2 separate regions of the Homo sapiens genome follow, and region 2 is linked to region 1. Evidence: promoter capture Hi-C in 16 types of primary human blood cells and fetal thymus (Javierre and others, 2016). All regions are on one chromosome and are shown on one strand. Each heading gives the region's core, a stretch centred on a gene start or on the middle of the fragment in contact. The rest is flanking DNA. Distances are from core to core; before and after follow the strand shown. Region 1 holds the start of MCM6 (minichromosome maintenance complex component 6). Region 2 has its middle 240 kb from the start of CXCR4.

Region 1 (4,144 bases), core at 1,222-3,721:
ACTCTGTCGCCCAGGCTGGAGTGCAGTGGCACGATCTCGGCTCACTACAAGCTCCGCCTCCCAAGTTCAGGCCATTCTCCTGCCTCAGCTTTCCGAGTAGCTGGGACTACAGGCGCCCCCCACCATGCCTGGCTAATTTTTTTGTATTTTTAGTAGAGATGGGGTTTCGCCGTGTTAACCAGGATGGTCTTGATCTCCTGACCTCGTGATCCGCTCATCTCGGCCTCCCAAGGTGCTGGGATTACAGGCGTGAGCCACCGTGCCCGGCCGAGTGTTCATTTTCAAATGAGGTAATACATACGATTACAGATACACTGCAACACGCCAGCATTGAGCTTTTTTGTTAAACTCTGTAAATATCTTGTGAATAGTGTATTTGTACGTATGTTAAAATAATTACTTGAGCTTCTGTCCACTCTGTTTGGCATTTTAAAATCTTTTCAGGCCGGGCGCGGTAGCTCACGCCTGTAATCCTAGCACTTTGGGAGGCCGAGGTGGGCGAATTGCCTGAGCTCAGGAGTTTGAGACCAGCCTGGGCAACATGGTGAAACCCCGTCTATACTAACATACAAAAACAAAAAAACAAAAACAAAAAAAATCAGCCGGGCGTGGCGGTGTGCGCCTGTAGTCCCAGCTACTCAGGAGGCTGAGGCAGAAGAATTGCTTGAACCTGGGAGGCAGAGGCTGCAGTGATCCGAGATCCTGCCACTGCACTCCAGCCTAATGACAGAGCGAGACTCTGTCTCCAAAAAAAAAAGAAAGAAAGAAAGAAAGAAAAGAAAGAAAAAAAAGAAAAAGAAAAAATTTTTCAATAAGTTGGATTTGGTGGTGGCAGGAAATCCCAGCTACTCGGGAGGCGGATGCAGGCAGATTGCTGGAGACCAGGTGTTCAAGGTCAGCCTGCACAACATAGTAAGACCTCGTCTCAAAAAAAGAAAAGAAAGAAAAAATATTTTTAATATGCAACAAGCCTCAAAAAATGGAAGTGGTCCCCGTTTCTCTTAATGTCTTGGAGGCCAAAAAAAGGTACTGGTTGGTGAAATACACATATAGATATCATCAGTACCCAGATGTTAATTAACGCCAAGGGAGTGTAAAGGGTCGCCCAAGAGAGCGACTTTACGGGAAAAGAAGGCTCTGGAACCAGAACATTTAAAAGACTCACTGAAGGAGAGGCGCCTACAAAGGATGCTAATCAGGAATGGCCAAAGAGATGGCAGAAAAACCAAGTGAAATGGTTAGGGAAAGATGGGGGAAAAAAACATAAGGATAACTCAAGCCAATAGTGCATTTTAAGAAGGGTATTAAGGCCGGGCGCTGTGGCTCACGGCCGTAATCCCAGCGCTTTGGGAGGTCGAGGCAGACGGATCACCTGAGGTCAGGAGTTTGAGAGCAGCCTGGCCAACATGGCGAAAACCCTGTCTCTACTAAAAATACAAAAATTGGCTGGGCATGGTAGCGGGCGCCTACAATCCCAGCTATTCAGGAGGCTGAGGCAGGAGAATCCCCTGGACCCGGGAGCTGGAGGTTGCAGTGACCCGAGATCGCGCCACTGCTCTCGAGCCTGAGCGACTGGGTGAGACTTCATCTGAAAAAAAAAAGAAAAGAAAAAGAAAAAAAGATTAATCAAAGTGTCAAATATTTCTTTCTTTTTCTTTTTCTTTCTTTTTTTTTTTTTTTTTTTTGAGACGGAGTCACACTGTGTTGCCCAGGCTGGAGTGCAGTGACACGATCTCGGCCCACTGCAACCTCCTCCTCCCAGGTTCAAGCGATTCTCCTGCCTCGGCCACCCGAGTAGCTGGGATTACAGGCGTGCACCACCACGCCCGACTAATTTTTGTATTTTTAGGGGAGATGGGGTTTCTGCATGTTGGCCAGGGTGGTCTCGAACTCCTGACCTCAGGTGATCCACACGCCTCGGCCTCCCAAAGTGCTAGGATTACAGGTTGTGAGCCACCGCGCCCGGCCAATGTCAAATATTTCGCTGATTTTCCTCGGTCAGCACCACCACAATAATTGTGCCACCTTACCCATGCAAGGTTTAGACATCTCTTTGACTCTTTTACAGGGTTTTATACTGTGGTTTCCATTATTTCCTCTAACTAGACAGCAGAAGCGGCTTACTCATTTTTCTCTTCCATAGAGTCTTACTCCGATCGTTCAATTAATATCAGTGGAATGATTTAAAGAACATTTGAAAAACCACTCGGACAAAACCCTCAGATTCGAACTTGTTCCAGCAGCCAAAAATACCCGCGGGCCACGGCTACACTGCGCAGGCGCAAAGGCAGATGGGCTTTCTCCAGAAGGGCTTTGCATTTGGCGCGAAATCCCTTTCCGTGGGCTGGGGCTCTTGGAGAGGCGCCGTTCATTGGTCAGGTTTGGCGCGAAATCTCCAGCTCCTGTGTCACGATTGGTTCCGGCCGTGCAGGTCGGAAGAGGGGGCGGGGCGGAAGCGGCGGCGGCGCGCGCAAAGCTGCAGCGTCTGGAAAAAAGCGACTTGTGGCGGTCGAGCGTGGCGCAGGCGAATCCTCGGCACTAAGCAAATATGGACCTCGCGGCGGCAGCGGAGCCGGGCGCCGGCAGCCAGCACCTGGAGGTCCGCGACGAGGTGGCCGAGAAGTGCCAGAAACTGTTCCTGGACTTCTTGGAGGAGTAAGTCGGCGAGCGCCCCGGGCCTCGCCCGCCTCCGGAGCCTGCGGCGTCTGGGCCAGGCGGTGCCGTGTGGGCGGCGGGTGTTCCGGAACCTGGGGGTCGCGCGTCCGGGAAGCGCCTCCCCGCCCGCCCCCCAACTTTAGGCTCCGAGCCCGGCGGCCGCGAGGAGCCTGGGACAGGCTGGGTTTTTCTGGAGTAAAACCCATCTCGAGCCCTAAGACGCTCGTGCCCAGTGCTCAGCGCTTTGCTTCTGTCACTTGATGCTCACCACCCCGCGAGCCTGGTATTTGCACAGCCCTCGGTGACCGGCGCGGAAACCTGGGCTCGCTGAGTATAGTAACTGGGCCGCTGGGTGCGGCCAGGTCGAGTGGGAGGCCGAAGTGCCATTGAATCTCGTCGGTGCCCTGCTGGGCCACGCAGCCGGGAGCATGGTGCTGGGGGTTCGCAGGGCACGGGCCACCCTCGCCTCTTGTGCTGATGAAAGTTTCTGCGTCAACTGTGGTTTGAAAGCTGCTGGGGGGCGGAGCCCTGCCCTGCAGAGAGTAGCTCACCATATCCCTTCTTCTGGGTCCCTTGCTCCCCTTTCCCTCTGGCCTTCCTTTCCTTTCTCTACTCTTCTTTTTTTCTGTGCCTCTGGGCTCCTAGCTTCATAACCCCAACCTCCTCCCTGGCTTGCCTCACCCACCGGTTATTTTTCCTGGAGCAGATACACCACGGCCTCCAGGATGAAGGGTCAGCAGTTTGGAATGGCTTTTGAAGTTCTTTTTTAGTAAAATATACATAACAAAGTTGACCATTTTAGCCATTTTTAAGTGTAGAGTCCAGTGGCACTAAGTGCATTCACCTCGTTGTGCAGCCGTCACCACTCTCCCATCTCCAAACTTTTTTTTTTTTGAGGCGTAATTTAGCCCTTGTTGCCCAGGCCGGAGTGCAGTGTCACCATCTCAGCTCACCGCAACCTCCGTCTCCCGGGTTCAAGCTATTCTCCTGCCTCAGCCTCCCTACTAGCTGGAATTACAGGCATGCGCCACCACGCCCGGCTAATTTGGTATTTTAGTAGAGATGGGGTTTCTCCATGTTGGTCAGGCTGGTCTTGAACTCCCGACCTCAGGTGATCCCCCCGCCTGGGCTTCCCAAAGTGATTACAGGCGTGAGCCACCGTGTCCGGCTCCAAACTCTTTTCATCTTCCAAACTGACATTCTGTGCCCATTAAACACGAACTCTCCTCCGTTACCCTCTCCCTCAGCCACCGTCACCCACCACTCTGCTTCCTTTCATTATGAGTTTGACCACTCTAGGTACCTCATATAAGTGGAAGCGTGTAGTATTTGTCCTTTTGTGTCTGGCTTGTGTAACATAATGTCTACAAGGTTCCTCTGCGAGGTAGCATGTGTCAGAATTTCCTTACTTTTTAAGGCTAAATAACATTGTCTGTACACATTGAGTATCCCTTTTCTGAAACGCTTGGGACCAGAAGAGTTTGGGATC
Region 2 (4,022 bases), core at 414-2,913, 480 kb before region 1:
GCACCAATAAGAGAAATGAAGATGCCTGTGCCCTCTCTAGAACCCTTCCACAATCTGTGGAAGAAAAAAGAGGAAGACAGGGTTCATACTATATGTCTATATTCTAACAGGCTAGAGAGTAGGCCTTACTTCCAAGCCAGAAGAAAGTCATATTCATTCTCTAAAGGAGAAAGAATGTTTCTTCTTCCACAACTGTGGTGCTATGGATGGTTTAGAGCAGGGGTTTTCAAACCCCAGGCCACAGACCGGTACCGGTTCGTGACCTGTTAGGAACCGGGCCACACAGGAAGAGGTGAGTGGCCAGTGAGCAAGCACTACTGCCTGAGCCCTGCCTCCTGTCAGATCACAGGTGGCATTAGATTCTCATAGAGCGCAAAGCTGCACATGCGAGGGATCTAGGTTGTGCTTTCCTCATGAGAATCTAAGGCCTGCTGATCTGTCATTGTCTCCCATTACCCCTAGACAGGACCATCTAGTTGCAGGAAAACAAGCTTAGGGCTCCCACTGATTCTACCTGATGGTGAGTTGTATAATTATTTCATTTACACAGGCCAGGCGCAGTGGCTCACGCCTGCAATCCCAGCACTTTGGGAGGCCACGGCAGGCAGATCACTTGAGGTCAGGAGTTTGAGACCAGCCTGGCCAATGGGGTGAAACCCCGTCTCTACTAAAAATACAAAAATTCACTGGGCATAGTGGTGCATGCCTGTGGTCCCAGCTATGTGGGAGTCTGAAGTGGAAGAATTGCTTGAACCTGGGAAGCAGAGGTTGCAGTGAGTGGAGGTTGGTGCAATCTCGAGATTGGCTGCACTCCAGCCTGGGTGACAGAGAGAGACCCTGTCTCAAAAAAAAAGAAAGAAAAGAAAAAAAAAAAGAAAAGAAAAGAAAGCACAATAAATGTAATGCCCTTGAATCATCCTGAAACCATCCCCCCTCCCTGGGTCCATGGAAAAATTTTCTTCCATGAAACTGGTCCCTGGTGCCAAAAAGGTTAGGGACCACTAGTTTAGAGACCTGGGGCACCCACCTAGCAATCCCAATTTTTAAAAATAACATTCTGTGATATGAACAATTACCATCTCCTCACCTACTTAAAATGTGACTAAATGTCTTAAGAAATATTTCTTTATCAATTGGTAATATATAATCTAACCAATTTATTTTAAAAGCTTTAGACAGGTTCCTACTCTCTCACCCTCTTATAACTCAAAAATTACCATTCCTACATGTTCCTAGGTATAAATTCTAGAGCCTGCCAGAATTCTTACACTAGAAATAACTTTGAATATCAGCTGAAATTTGCTGCAAACATTCATGTTTGCATGCCAAGGTCACTAGTCAACCGATCTTAGATTTTCATATAAAAGACCCTCAAAGCGAACTCAGCAGATATCTCTACCAGCACAAAGCACTGGAAACACAACTTGCAAGAGTAAAGAGTTTAAAACCAAGGTTTAAAATAAAAAATGTATTCAACTTTACAGTAACAGCACCTAGGGCACATTACACCTGTATACATCACTCTCCACAGTATATCAGGAGGAGGTGGAGTTATAATAGCCTTACATGGTCTGAGGAAGAAACCTCAGCTATTTCACAATTTGCTGAGGCCCACCTGGGCAGAAACCACACTGATGTTTAAAAAAAAAAAATGGTGCATTATGCAAACCAAGATGGAAAAGATGAATCAAAGTAGGCTTTATTTGTAGGGCTGTTTGGGATATAATATTTCCTTCATAACTGAAAAATAGTCATGCTGCATGTCGGGGAGGAGTTACCAACAAAGCCAGCCTGATACCTCATACTTTCCATAAGGTACACATTCAAGCACAGAGCTTGATTCGTGGCTGTGAGGGTTATTTTCTCAGCTAGTCCATGCTCGCCTTTCTCACTCCACCTCTTAGCACTTGTCCAAAAGTCCTCAGCTTGCATTCTATGTGTTGGGTTGCTTATAGGTCCGGCACATATAAAGCTGATAGGCCCATTGCTAGGAATGCTTTTTCAGCTGTGCAAAGCTCTGTTGAGACCCACCAAGGCACTGCAGCCTTGGGCTGTTGGACTTGCTACTTGACTTTCAAAGCCATTCCCTCCCTTCCCAGGGAAGTTGCTTGTATACTTCACCCACCTCTGTCTGCAGAGCAAGCCTGGCAAGCTTCCCACCATCACTTTAAGGCCTTCAACCTTCAGCTCCTGCTCCACTTTTCCAGAATGGGTTGGAGCCCCTTGTCTGTGTTCCCTTTGTGCCCTACTTCTACCTTCTGTTGTCAACACTTGACAGAATCATATTGAGACTATACATTTGTATGTTGAATTTCAGCCCCATTTTATTTACCTCCTATCTTGGCTCCAACGTGTAAAACTATGACTAGTTTTGAATAGGTTCTCAATCATGTGTAGGTGAAGCCAATTTATGTCATTGTTGAAGCTCTCTGCCATCAAAGAAAAGTTTAGAAAGTAAAGTGAGGCCTGCAAGGGCCTGGGCAAACCCCAGCCAGACTGCCCACTGGGTGGGAACCCCCTCCCCCGAGGCCCACTGCTGCCATCCTCCACTCATGGTGAGCCATTGAGTTCTATCATAATAGCTGGTGGGGGAAGCCTGGCTTCATTGCAGCCTCACTTCCTGCTCTGCCTTTGCTCCTTTCTCAATGTTGAGAAAGGATGCCTGTTCTGATGGGAACATGCATCAGATTGGGAGTTACAGAGATTTGCTGTCCAGAGACTGACAGACAATGATGCTAAACAGGTCACAGCTCCTCTCTGCCCTCAGCTTATTCATTCTCAAAATGAGAGGACTGCCACTTCACACCCACTAAGATGGCTACAATAAAAAGACAGACAATAATAAGCATTGAGAGGATGTGGACGACGAACCCCCATATACTGCTGGTGAGAATGGAAAATGGTGCAGCCCCTTTGGAAAATAGTGGCAGTTTCTCAAAAAGTTAAACCTAGAGTCACCACAGGACCCAGAAATTCCACCCCTAGGTATATATCCAAGAAAAATGAAAAACGTCCAGATAGAAACTTCTGCACAAATGTTCATGGCAGCATTCCTTCTACTAGCCAAAAAGTGGAAACAATCCAATGTCCATCACCAGATGAATGGATAAACAAAATGTGGTAGGTCCTTACCATGGAATATCGTTTAGCTCAAAAAGGAATAAAGTTCTGAAACATGAATGAAACTTGACAACCTTATGCTCAGTGAAAGGAATGGGGAGTGACTATTTCATGGGGACAAAATCTTTTTTGGAAGTGAGGAAAATGTTTTGGAACTAGAGAGATGATGGCTGAGCAACATTCTGACTGTACTAAATGCCATTAAATTGCATGCTTTAAAATGGTTAGTTTTGGCTGGGCCCCATGGCTCACACCTATAATCCCAGCACTTTGGGAGACCCAGGCAGGTGGATCATTTGAGACAAGGAGTTCGAGACCAGCCTGGCCAACATGGTGAAACCCCATCTCTAGTAAAAAATACAAAAATTAGCCCAGTGTGATGGCACATACCTGTAATCCAAGCTACTTAGGAGGCTGAGGCATGAGAATCACTTGAACCTGGGAGGCTAAGTTTGCAGTTAGCCAAAATAGCACCACTGCACTCCAGCTTGGGGGACAGAGTGAGACTGTCTCAAAAAAAAAAAAAGGTTCAAGTGATTCTCCTGCCTCAGTCTCCTGAGAAGCAGGGACTACAGGCACATGCCACCATGCCCAGCTAATTTTTTATTTTTAGTAGAGATGAGGTTTCACCATGTTGGTTGGCCAGGCTAGTCTCAAACTCCTGACCTCAGGTGATCCGCCCACCTCAGCCTCCCAAAGGGCTGGAATTACAGGTGTGAGCCATAGCACCTGGCCAGGAGTATTTAGTTCTTAAACAAATCACAGCTGCAACAAACTCTGACTGTTGTGCCTTCATCCCTGAGCTTGGTTTTTGATAATAGTTGCTCTGGGCTTTCTAAAGTGGACATGTGGACAGCACCTGCCATGAGGCTCTGCAGATAATCTTGTAGAGGCAATAGCCC

What was found. The method cuts DNA at HindIII sites, captures the fragments that hold promoters and counts their contacts. A CHiCAGO score of 5 or more calls a contact.
Region 2: a fragment that was not itself captured here is called in contact with the fragment with the promoter of MCM6 in region 1 in 1 of 17 cell types (neutrophils); the score reaches 6.8 in neutrophils.

The regions. Positions count from the first base shown.
Region 1 is chr2:135,874,770-135,878,913 of GRCh38, reverse strand. It overlaps MCM6 (minichromosome maintenance complex component 6), which reads left to right and starts at 2,471. Exons shown (of 17, transcript NM_005915.6): 1 at 2,471-2,655. The coding sequence starts at 2,549. RefSeq lists enhancers at 2,197-2,256, 2,947-3,076, 2,846-3,381 and a silencer at 2,717-2,876. The HindIII fragment of the contact is 12,304 bases long and covers 1-4,144 here.
Region 2 is chr2:136,357,303-136,361,324 of GRCh38, reverse strand. No RefSeq gene overlaps it. Among named protein-coding and RNA genes, the nearest start is that of CXCR4, 240 kb to the right of the region's middle. The HindIII fragment of the contact is 983 bases long and covers 1,172-2,154 here.